Linked DNA regions of Homo sapiens: regions 1, 2 and 3 are each linked to region 4. Evidence: promoter capture Hi-C in 16 types of primary human blood cells and fetal thymus (Javierre and others, 2016). All regions are on one chromosome and are shown on one strand. The core of a region is centred on a gene start or on the middle of the fragment in contact, and the rest is flanking DNA. Distances in the headings are between cores, read along the strand shown.

Region 1 (2,700 bases), core at 136-2,635, 190 kb before region 4:
TGGACAGCAGTCTTCTATGACTTCTGTGGTTTCATTTATGTAATATAATACTCTTGAAATTACAACATTGTAGAAATAGAGAACAGGTTCCTATTTGCCAAGAGTCAGGGACGGGAGGGGCCAGAGCAAGGTGGATTTGGGCTATAAAAGGGCACCAGGTATCCTGGTGGCCATGGAAATTTCTGTATCTCGACTGATGTCAGTATCCTGGCTGTGATAGTATACCATAATTTTGTAAAATGTTACCATTGGAGGAAACAATTTATAGGGCACCAAGATCTGTCTGTTCTTTACAGTTGCATTTGAAGGTACAATTATTTCAAAATAAAAAGTTTTAATGTTTTCTTAAAAAAAGCATAATGATACCTGCCATTTCTGTGCTAGGGAATCATTGTAAGTATTTAAGGAGGTACAAGGTATGCTGAGGTGTGTCATCATATGGGCCCACATGGTAGCAATGGGTCTTATCCATCCGTGTGTCTGTTTCAGCTTGTATGTTCAGTATTCTACTCTACCTTATCCAAAAAGCAGTTATAGTAGCTTTAATATATTATAATCTTTAATAAAGTTCATTTATCTTGCAGCAAGTTTGTTTAGGGCTTTCTTTGAACTGAGCACCATATTGGGAATAAAAAGAATGGGATAAGAAATGCCATAGACTGAGCTCAGTCCATTTCACATGTAAACAGTCAGTCATAGGATGGATATAGAGCTGGGGTTTGTTTTGAAAGCTTTGTATTGTAACAATTTTAATATCTTTTTTTTTTTTTTAGATGGAGTCTCACTCTGTTGCCTAGGCTGGAGTGCAGTGGCGTGATCTCGGCTCACTGCAACCACTGCCTCCCGGGCCCAAGCGATTCTCCTGCCTCAGCCTCCCAAGTAGCTGGGATTACAGGCACGCCACCACAGCTGGCTAATTTTTGTATTTTTAGTAGAGACGGGTTTCACCTATGTTGGCCAGGCTGGTCTTAAACTCCTGACCTCAAGTGATCCGCCCACCTCAGCCTCCCAAAGTGCTGGGATTACAGGTGTGAGCCACCATGCCCGGCAACAATTTTAATATCAATTTAGAATGCATCTTAGAATCAATATGATTCTTAGTTTAATTGGGAGCCTTTTGCTTAAAAGCTTGATAGTACATAAATAATGGTTGCATCTTACACTTAGTAACATCTTAGGTTCACTGAGATCTGGTGATAATGTCTAAAACTATTTTGTGTAATCTTTATCTGAATGTTTTACCTGTCCTGATTTTATTAAACAGAATTTGGGGAGGAGATACTTGTTTTCTTTAGATAGAGTATTAACAATTTGAGGGTCTGATGGTACATTTAGTGAATTCCATGATGATAATATATTATTTACATACACCCAAATGTTGAAACCTCATTTCTTCTTATCTTTTTTTCCCTTTGTTTTTCAAGTGTCGATATATAGTATCTGGTTTTATGACAAGAATGACTGTCACCGCATAGCAAAACTCATGGCTGAGTAAGTATATTACTCCATAAATTTAACTGATGATATGTGAGAAATGAAAAATAATCCCCTCCCACTTCTCTTTGTTACTAAAGTCTGCCAACTCATGTATTTCCCCAATTTCTTTTTACTGCCAAAAACTTGGAAAAGGCTGAAAAGCTTTAAAATATATATAATTATTATCTTAACTCCTCCCAGTGTGCATTTCAGTTTCCTTCCAGTCTTCCTTCTTTGTGTATATATTAAGTAGATGTGTGTGATTGTTTTTTTACAAAAATAGGATCCTACTGTATGTATACTGCTTTTCATATCAACAGCATTTTTCCAGGGCATTAAATCTTTCTCTGTAGTATTTATGACAGCTGCATTGTATCCAGCTCTATAGACAGATCATGATTTAACCAGAACTTTACTGTTGGACCTGTAGGTTAAGGCTGCCAAACTGCCCGGCTCCAGAGGATATCTGCATCAGGTGTACAGCCTGACCATATACAGCAACTCTGATTTAGGTTCTGTGCAGATTTCCACTGTAACAAGTGATACCATATGTGATAGCCTGATAGAGAACTCATACACACATCTGTATTTAGTTCTTTTAAGTGAACTTGTTTTTGACACAGACTCTAGGCTTAACAGGCCCCAATCCACTCATGGGTTGTGTTCCAGAAGATTTTTTGTGACTCAGAACCTTGAAATTTAGAAAATTATTTTCCTTGAATTAATGTTCTAAAGGGCAGTTCATTGTCCTCTCTCAAGCTAGCCTGTAGAAGCCAGCCCTTGTGTGACCTATCCGTATTGCTGGACTGCCATTCTGGATTCTGGAAGCCCATTACACGGGGCTTCAGGGGGCCTGAGGGACTACAGAGCTCTGGGCAAAATGCTATAATAGGTAGACGGTATATTCTGGTGCACCTCTGCTTTTTTTCAGTTTTTGCCTGAATCTTCTCAGAAATGTGGACCTCTCTCCCCCCTCCACCATCCCCATCTGTCAAATCAAAATTCCTTTTGCTCTCTTACAGTTTTCAATCACATGTTTAAAAGAAAATAATCTTAAATTTTTTAACAGTCTAATCTTATTTTATTTTTATTTTATTTTACTTTATTTGGTTTTTTTTAGACAGAGTCTCGCTCTGTCACGCAGTCTGGAGTGCAGTGGCGCAGTCACAGCTCAGTGCAGCCTCAAACTTCTGGGCTTAAGTGATCCTCCCATCTCAGCCTCTC
Region 2 (2,700 bases), core at 136-2,635, 210 kb before region 4:
TTGGTGGCAGGCGCCTGTAATCACTTGAACCTGGGAGGTGGAGGTTGCAGTGAGCTGAGATCGCGCCACTGTACTCCAGCCTGGGCAACAGAATGAGACTGTGTCTCAAAAAAATAAATAAATAAACTGGGCTCTGAAACTGGAAACATTCTTTTGTATATAATTTAGTTTACTATTTCATTTAATAGCACTACATTTCTGTTGTCGGTTTATTAAAATAAGGTTTATGCCTTTGTTTTTTTGCAGCTGTGGACTATCAGCTGCCCATGTCCCTAAGCAACAGAACTTAGTTTGGGACACACAGGATGGGAACAGATACAGATAATTCTTTCCACAAAGAAAGTATTATTATTACTATTATTATTTTCTTTTTTTTGAGACGGAGTCTTGCTCTGTTGCCCAGGCTGGAGTGCAGTGGTGTGATCTAGGCTCATGCAAGCTCTGCCTCCCGGATTCATGCCCTTCTCCTGGCTCGGCCTCCCAAGTAGCTGGGACTACAGGCACCCGCCACCACGCCTGGCTAATTTTTTTGTATTTTTGGTAGAGAAGGGGTTTCACCGTGTTAGCCAGGATGGTCTTGATCTCCTGACCTTGTGATCTGCCTGCCTCGGCCTCCCAAAATGCTGGGATTATAGGCATGAGCCACCACGCCCGGCCAGAAAATATTATTTTTGCCCAGAATAGTGGTGATGGGTTTTTTTTTTTAAGATATTTATTACTTTTTCTACTTTATTTTGTCTGAATATGTTTCTAAGTAAGGTTTTTCTATCTGTTTATTTAATTGAGTGTCTACTGGTTACCAGCACTGAGCCAAGAGCTGTGGTGCTTTAATGTTAACGATACAGTTACCTATGTGGTGTAAGCAGGCAGTTAAGTCAACTGAGACTCAGAGATGCATAACTATTACCCTGTTGGAGAGTTAGGATTATGACTATTCTTCTGCTTTTTAGTCCAGGGTTCTTTCAGGCATTTTTACAATCTCTAATAACGATTGGATGTAGTCAGCAAAGCTAGAGTGGCCCTTCCAAGAAACTACAGTACTAAAAAATATACTTGATTCCAGTGTATTAGTATGGATATTGAAGGTATGGGTGTTTGAGGACAGTTTGTTGGACATTGACTATAGGGATATGAAAACTGGTTATGGTAACAATGATTGTGCTCTAATTGGCATCTAAGGATATAGTTGGAGAAATGTTGCTTCTAACTTAAAAAGTAAAAGTTAATGTGTTTGAATTTCACTTGGCGGGGGGGTAATTGGTCTTGGGGGATGTCTTCAGTATAAAATAGAAAAAGTTACTAAAAATTATACACCTCTTAATTCCCTGAATGAGAAGTAACAAGGCCTATTTTAAAGCTAGAAACCCCCAAGTTCTTTTCCGTAGCACACTTTGAAGTATAAGTGAAATAGGTTCTATCTTTTGACTTCTCAGTAAACTATTTGTCCAGGTAATTACCTCTCAGATTTTAAATTCTGTGGACATATTAGACATGCTTTGTAATAGCTGTAAGTTCAGATGGATTTATTTAAACTAATGTTAACAATGTAATTATTTCAGATTGCTCTTTTCTTTGTACTGAATATTCCATTAAAGGGAAAATTCGGCTGGGCAAAGTGGCTCAACACCTGCAATCCCACGATTTTGGGAGACCGAGGCAAGCAGATTGCTTGAGCCCAGGAGTTTGAGACCAGCCTGGGCAACATGTCAAAACCCCCACTCCACAAAAAAATAGAAAAATTAGCCAGGTGTGGTGTCACACACTTGTAGTCCCAGCTACCCAGGAGGCTGAGGTGGGAAAGTCGCTTGAACCCAGGAGGCTGTCCAGGCTGCAGTGAGCCATGATTGCGCCACTGCACTCCAGCCTGGGCAACAAGCGAGACCCTGACTCAAAAAATGAAAAGAGGGTGGGAGAAATTCTGCAAATGAATATGGATCCAATTTTTTTTTAAGTGAAATAGGCTTAATTCTGTTCTTTACTGCCTGGAAACTTAATCTAGCCATCACTCCTAAGTGGTTTGATTATTAAAGTAGTCAGTAGGGAAAGTTATCCGGACCCAGTTACCATTTAGCATAAACCTGAGATGAATTGTATTATATTTTTTTCACAAGGCAAAAGTCCTGTGAAATTGAAAGTGTGACATAACACAAATGTAATTGAACCATGAGTAACCAGAAGCTAACTAATTAGAGCTTCAGTTGTCTGGAAATATTTTTATAGTTCGTGTGTGGAAGAAATGAAGGCAAATTATAAGAAAACAAGCTAATACTAGGTTTTATTTTCTGAAAATCAAGCAGATATCCAGAGAATAACCTGGGGTCGGCATTAAAATGTCAATATTTTATAACTTTAACTCCACTGTAGTATCATAGGTTAAATTGTTATAGTGAGACCTAAAATCATCAGGAGTATTTATTATGTTAACTAGAACATTCTTGGGGAGAAAGTGCATTAATGCATTTTACTTTAGAAAATTTTCAACTGATTGAAACAAAAGTTTTCTTAGTTGAACAGAAAACTCACTTAACCAGGTCATTTCATTAGGGAAAGTATTTAAAGGAATAGCTGTATTGGGGAGAAGTGATAAGACAACAGAAAATGATTTTGTGAGTGTTAAGCCCTCTCGAGTGTGTGTTTTGTCTACATAGTCTTAAAAGTGGAAAATAGTCTTGTCAGGTCAGCGAGCTATTAAGTTGTTTA
Region 3 (2,700 bases), core at 158-2,657, 150 kb before region 4:
GCTGGGTGTGGTGATGGGCGCCTGTGGTCCCAGCTACTTGTGATGCTGAGGAGGGACGACTGCTTGAACCTGAGAGGCAGAGGTTGCAGTAAGCCGAGATCGCGCCACTGCACTCCAGCCTGGGTGACAGAGCCAGACCCTGCCTCATTTTTTTTTTAGCTCTGTCGCCCAGACTGGAGTGCAGTGGCGTGGTTTCTGATCACTGCAATCTTCACTTCTCGGGCTCAAGTGATTCTCGTGCCTCAGCCTCCCCAGTAGCTAGGGGGAAAAAAATTTTTTTTAGCATGGCCGAGCACAGTGGCTCCCGCCTATAATCCCAGCACTTTGGGACGCCAAGGCAGGCGGATCACCTGAGGTTGGGAGTTCGCAACCAGCCTGACCAACATGGAGAAACCCTGTCTCTACTAAAAATACAAAATTAACCAGGTGTGGTGGCGCAAGCCTGTAATCCCAGCTACTCGGGAGGCTGAGGCAGAAGAATCACTTGAACCTGGGAGGTGGAGGTTGCGGTGAGCCAAGGTCGCGCCATTGCACTCCAGCCTGGGCAACAAGAGTGAAACTCCATCTCAAAAAAAAAAATATTAAAGAATTGCTGTTGATTATTTTCCTGATCTTCACAATAACCCATGTTAGGAGAAGGACATTGAAGCTGAGAGTGACTGAGTCTGAGTCTGTGCCAAAGGTTGCATATTAAGCAGAGGTGGTCAAGGACCTGAACTAAGCAGCCTGGAGAGGTACTCTAGAATTCTCTTTTTTTTTGAGAGAGAGAGTCTCACTCTGTCACCCAGGCTGGAGTGCAGTGGTGCGATCTCGGCTCACTGCAACCTCCATCTCCCAGATTCAAGCAATTCTGCCTCAGCCGCCCACGTAGCTGGGACTACAAGCACATGCCACCATGCCTGGCTACTTTTTTTTTTTTTTTTTTTAATTTTTAGTAGAGACAGGGTTTCACCATGTTGGCCAGACTGGTCTTGAACTCCTGTCCTCAGGTAATCCACCCGCCTCGGTCTCCGAAAGTGCTGGAATTACAGGCGAGAGCCACTGCGCCCGGCCGGAATTCCTTTCTTGACTCCGTTGCCTAAGTGATAAATTATCCTTGAGGCTTTTCATAGTGTCTGAGGTCATTCACGTTACTGCTGTTTATTAAAAGCTTCTCACCTGCTGCTTTTCACCTGTCAAGTTCTAGGAAGCCAGGTAACCAAGTTCATTGGAATTTTGTGAAAAGCTTAAGTCAACAGGTCCTGAATAAGAGCTGTAGAGTTTCCTCTTTAAATTGAACAGATGGGTTTGAGATTTCTTGGTTGTCTCTAAAGACATTTTCCCTCACTGTTTATGGGTCCTTGTTCATAGATTAGGTGTTGCTATAAAAAATCTGATCTTTCAATAAGAAGTGTATGAATAACAGCTCGTTGAGTCTTCTGAAAAGTAATGTTTGTCTCAGCTGTCAGGACCCAGACAGTCTCTCTCACCAGAGGAGAGGCGGGAAGTGGTGCAGCCAGGCTGTCGATGAGCAGGAAGCCCACCATCAGATGAAGACAGAAGGAAGCAACAGCAAGAAATACCCAGTCACAGAATCAAACCAAGCTTGAAGCTCACCCTCCACTTCCATGTTTGACGCAGTATGAACTGGCTACCTATTACATGTAATATGAAGAGTCCTAAGAGCTTTCTAAAGGGCTTAGATCAATTCAAGATTCTAAACCTCTTAGAGTTTGCTGAATGGAGTTTTAGGTAAGAAGATAGCTGCCACACTCACACAGAGGTATAAGGAACCCATGCTGAGCCTATGCCATGGGGCTCCCAGCCCATGAGAGCCTTATGCACCTTGCATGTCTCTTCAGGTTCACCAGGCTACATTAGCCAAAAGTAAAGACAGCTAGGCTGGACACAGGTGGCTCACACCTGTAATCCTAGCACTTTGGGAGGCGAAGGTGAGAGGATCATTTGACCCCAGGGGTTCAAGATTGACCTGGGCAATATTGCAACATCCCCACCCCTTATACAAAATAAATTTAAAAATCAGCCAGGTGTGGGTGGTATGTGCCTGTGGTCTCACCTACTCTAGACACTGAGGTGGGAGGATCACTTGAGCCTAGGAGCTGCAGTGAGCTACGATTGTGCCACTGCACTCCAGCCTGGGCAACAGAGCAAGACTCTATCTCTAAAAAATAAACTAAGATAAAGTAAACGACTTTTAAAGTAAGCGACTTTTAAAGTAAACAACAATTAAACGACTGCTAGTAAGAGATTTCTTATAACCAGCAGAGATGGAATGGCTGGGGGAGAGGTGATGCAAAGTCAATGTGACAGTCACATCATGTTCAACCAACATTTATTTCAGATGAGTCTGAATAAATTTGAAGTGCAATTCCACAAGAAATCATAAGCTGACATTTGTCATGTTTGTCCCCTCCAAATCTGATGTTGAAATGTGATCTTGATGTTGGAGGTGGGTCCTGGTGGGAGGTGTTTGGACCCCAGGAGTGGATCCCACATGAATGGCTTCCTGCCTTTCTCGTGGCAGTGAGTGAGTCCTTACTGTTAGTTCTCAGGAGAATTGATAGGTTTTTTGGTTTGGTTTTTTTTGTTTTGTTTTTTGGGGTTTTTTGCTTTTTGTTTTTGTTTTTGTTTTTGTTTTGTTTTGTTTTGTTTGAGACAGAGCCTCACTCTGTTGCCCAGGCTGGAGTGCAGTGGCGCGAT
Region 4 (2,700 bases), core at 187-2,686:
GGGTACTGTCTTGATTTGCTTGGGCTGCTGTAACAAAATACCATAGACTGGGTAAGTCAAAAACAGAAATTTCTCTCACAGCTCTGGAGGCTGGAAGCCCAAGATCAAGGTGCTAGCCAGTTTGGTTCCTGTTAAGTGTATGTTGGGCGCCTTACATTTTACAAAGCCTTCTTCGTGGTTGCAGACAGCTACATTCTTGCTGTATCCTCAAATAGTAAACACAGAGATCATTTTTCTGACATCTCTTTTTATAAGGACATGAATCCCATTATGACGGCTCCACTTTCAGGACCTAATTACTTCCCAAAGGCCTTACCTCCTAATACTATCACACTGGGGATTAGGCTTCAACATATGAATTTTGAGGGTACACAAACATTTAGTCCACAGCAGGTACCAGCTGTGGTTGGCCAGGAAAGTCAGGACAGTGTGGTCTAGGAGGGCAAGGGGTGCTGTCAGGGAAGACACTTTGGACAAAGAGGGTGGAGGAGCAAAGGCCAGTGAGTCACCGCCTGTTTGAGGACCAGTAAGGACTCGGAATGGCTATGGCCTAGATAGTGTTGGGAAGGGCAATGATCGTGTGAAAGGTAGTAGAAGATAGGTTGGGGCCAAATCATGTGAGGACTGAAAGAGATTGGGGAAAGACTGGGCTTCCTACAGCCTGCTTGGTAGATAATAAGAACACTGACAGAACAGCAGCTGATTGTGTATGTTGGGCGCTTTACATTTTTTTACAAAGCACTTCCAGTCCTTCTTCCACTCTGCCCTCACAATTTCTAGCATACAGGCAAGAGTGATAAGTTTAGGATCAGGAGCCTGGTATCCACTTAGTCAGGAAACAAGTTGTGTAGATTCGAACAAGTCACTTCCCATCTCCAAGGCTTTACTCATCTCTAACCACAGGGGCCAATTCTCAGAGCTTTCGGAAGGATTTCACAAAACCATACACATAACAGTGCTATATCTAACTTCTGGTCCTCAGTTCTTTCTCTGTTAAATGAGGACAATTCCTGTCCAGCCTAATTCAGAGGGTCTGTGGCTGTGATTCTGTAAGCAAAGGTCAATGGTGAGAATCTTCTTAACGGGCCAGTGAGAAGTTTGTTCCCCTTTTGGCAGATGAGGCCAGGAAAGTTAGTGCTTCTTGGTTGGTGGCTGAAAGCCTCAGAGAAGGAACTTTGGATTCTTTAACGGTATCTCTTAGTACTCGCCACACTATTTCGTTTATACGGGGAAGAGAGGGACAGACAGCGCACAAGCGACAGACAGCGCAAAACCTACCGAAATAGAAAGAGCCAGGCGCCATAACAGACGGCCCGAGACAGGCCCACTTAAAGGACCAGAACTTCTCGTGCCCCGCCCCCCTCTCTCAAGGCCATCAATCAGACAGCGAGGCGCGCCGTGACGCCATCTTATCGCGACTAAACGGAGTGGCGGCGGCATTTCCTGGTGTCTGAGCCTGGCGCGGAGGCTATGGGCAGCCAGGAGGTGCTGGGCCACGCGGCCCGGCTGGCCTCCTCCGGTCTCCTCCTGCAGGTACTCTCTGCCCTTCAGGTTCCAGCTTGTACTGCAGCCGGGATTCGCGGGATGGCAGCCCTTGGGCCCTTGAGAGCCTGCCCCAGGGCCGACCCAGTCCCGAGGTGGACCCCGCAATGGAGGGGGTGGGGGGGTCGACCGGAGACGGTGGCATTGATGAGGGGGGACCCTGGCCCGGAGATAGGAGCCTGCCTTTAGAGTCTAGGCCGGGTGACTGCAGACAAGCCGCTTTCCTTCTGAGCATTCTATTTCCCATATGGCAGTAGGAGTGAATTAGATCAGGTGGCGGGGGTGAGGGACTGGTATTTCGTGCTCGAGAATCTGATATTTTTCAGGCAAGGGGTTCATTTCCTTCATCAAACACCTTCCTCAAACTTTGAGTCCCACTGAGTTCCGAGAGTCCATATGGCATAGCTAAGAAGAGAAATCTGGAGTTAGGCTTGGATTGCTCCGTGACCCAGGACAAGTGACTTCACCTGCAGAGCCTGAGTTCCTCACTAGTAAAATGGGGGTAATAATATGTCGTACTTAGCTCATAAGCAGGGATTGATTGGGATCATTCAAATAAACGTACTTAACACAGTACCCGGCTCTTAGTATGCATTTAATACATGTTGGCTGCATCTTCTGTTTATGTGATCTTGGACAAGTCACTTCCCTTCTTGGCCCTAATTTTTGTCATCTGTCAGGTATGATACAGGCCAGTTAGTCCAAATGGTATCTGAAGATTCTTTCAACCCCAGGAGCTGAACCTCTTAAGTCAAGTGGCTCAGTATCTCTCTGTCTCACTCTTGAGCCAATCAACCCTACTTCACACAAGTCCCGAATCTACCCTACCCCTTATCTTAGAGAGGCACATGGAGGGCAGAAGAAAGAACCAAGCAGAATGGGGCTTGAGTTTGGGCCTTGTCACTTGCTAGATGCCTGCCTTCGGGATAAATCCGATGACTTCTGTATCAGTTTCTTCATCTTAAATGAGAATCATAGTGCAACCTCACAGGGTCATTAGGAAGATTAGATGAAATCATGCCTCTTAAGTGCCTGGCACACTACAAGTACTTAATAAATGTAGCTATTTTTATTAGGGTAATAAGTATTTTTAAAATAGTCAATGTAGGAATGAAATGAGATAACCTATGGAAAGCATGTTGAAGAGTGCCTTGCACG

Evidence for each region. Contacts are between HindIII fragments. The CHiCAGO score rates a contact against its expected background, and 5 or more counts as called.
Region 1: a fragment that was not itself captured here is called in contact with the fragment with the promoter of RFT1 in region 4 in 1 of 17 cell types (M0 macrophages); the score reaches 6.1 in M0 macrophages.
Region 2: a fragment that was not itself captured here is called in contact with the fragment with the promoter of RFT1 in region 4 in 1 of 17 cell types (neutrophils); the score reaches 6.2 in neutrophils.
Region 3: a contact is called between a fragment that was not itself captured here and the fragment with the promoter of RFT1 in region 4, in 3 of 17 cell types (M1 macrophages, neutrophils and M0 macrophages). The highest score is 6.9, in M1 macrophages.

What each region holds. Positions count from the first base shown.
Region 1 is chr3:53,318,198-53,320,897 of GRCh38, reverse strand. It overlaps DCP1A (decapping mRNA 1A), which reads left to right. Exons shown (of 10, transcript NM_018403.7): 4 at 1,425-1,491. Among named protein-coding and RNA genes, the nearest start is that of SNORD38C, 14 kb to the left of the region's middle. The HindIII fragment of the contact is 510 bases long and covers 1,131-1,640 here.
Region 2 is chr3:53,339,130-53,341,829 of GRCh38, reverse strand. All of the region lies in intron 3 of DCP1A (decapping mRNA 1A), which reads left to right. Among named protein-coding and RNA genes, the nearest start is that of DCP1A, 7.1 kb to the left of the region's middle. The HindIII fragment of the contact is 5,444 bases long and covers 1-2,700 here.
Region 3 is chr3:53,274,189-53,276,888 of GRCh38, reverse strand. The region is part of intron 1 of LOC107986087 (a long non-coding RNA gene); the gene reads right to left. Among named protein-coding and RNA genes, the nearest start is that of TKT, 20 kb to the right of the region's middle. The HindIII fragment of the contact is 359 bases long and covers 1,228-1,586 here.
Region 4 is chr3:53,129,171-53,131,870 of GRCh38, reverse strand. It overlaps RFT1 (RFT1 glycolipid translocator homolog), which reads left to right and starts at 1,436. Exons shown (of 13, transcript NM_052859.4): 1 at 1,436-1,533. The coding sequence starts at 1,471. RefSeq lists enhancers at 1,031-1,080, 1,091-1,290, 1,331-1,380, 1,391-1,580. The HindIII fragment of the contact is 8,425 bases long and covers 1-2,700 here.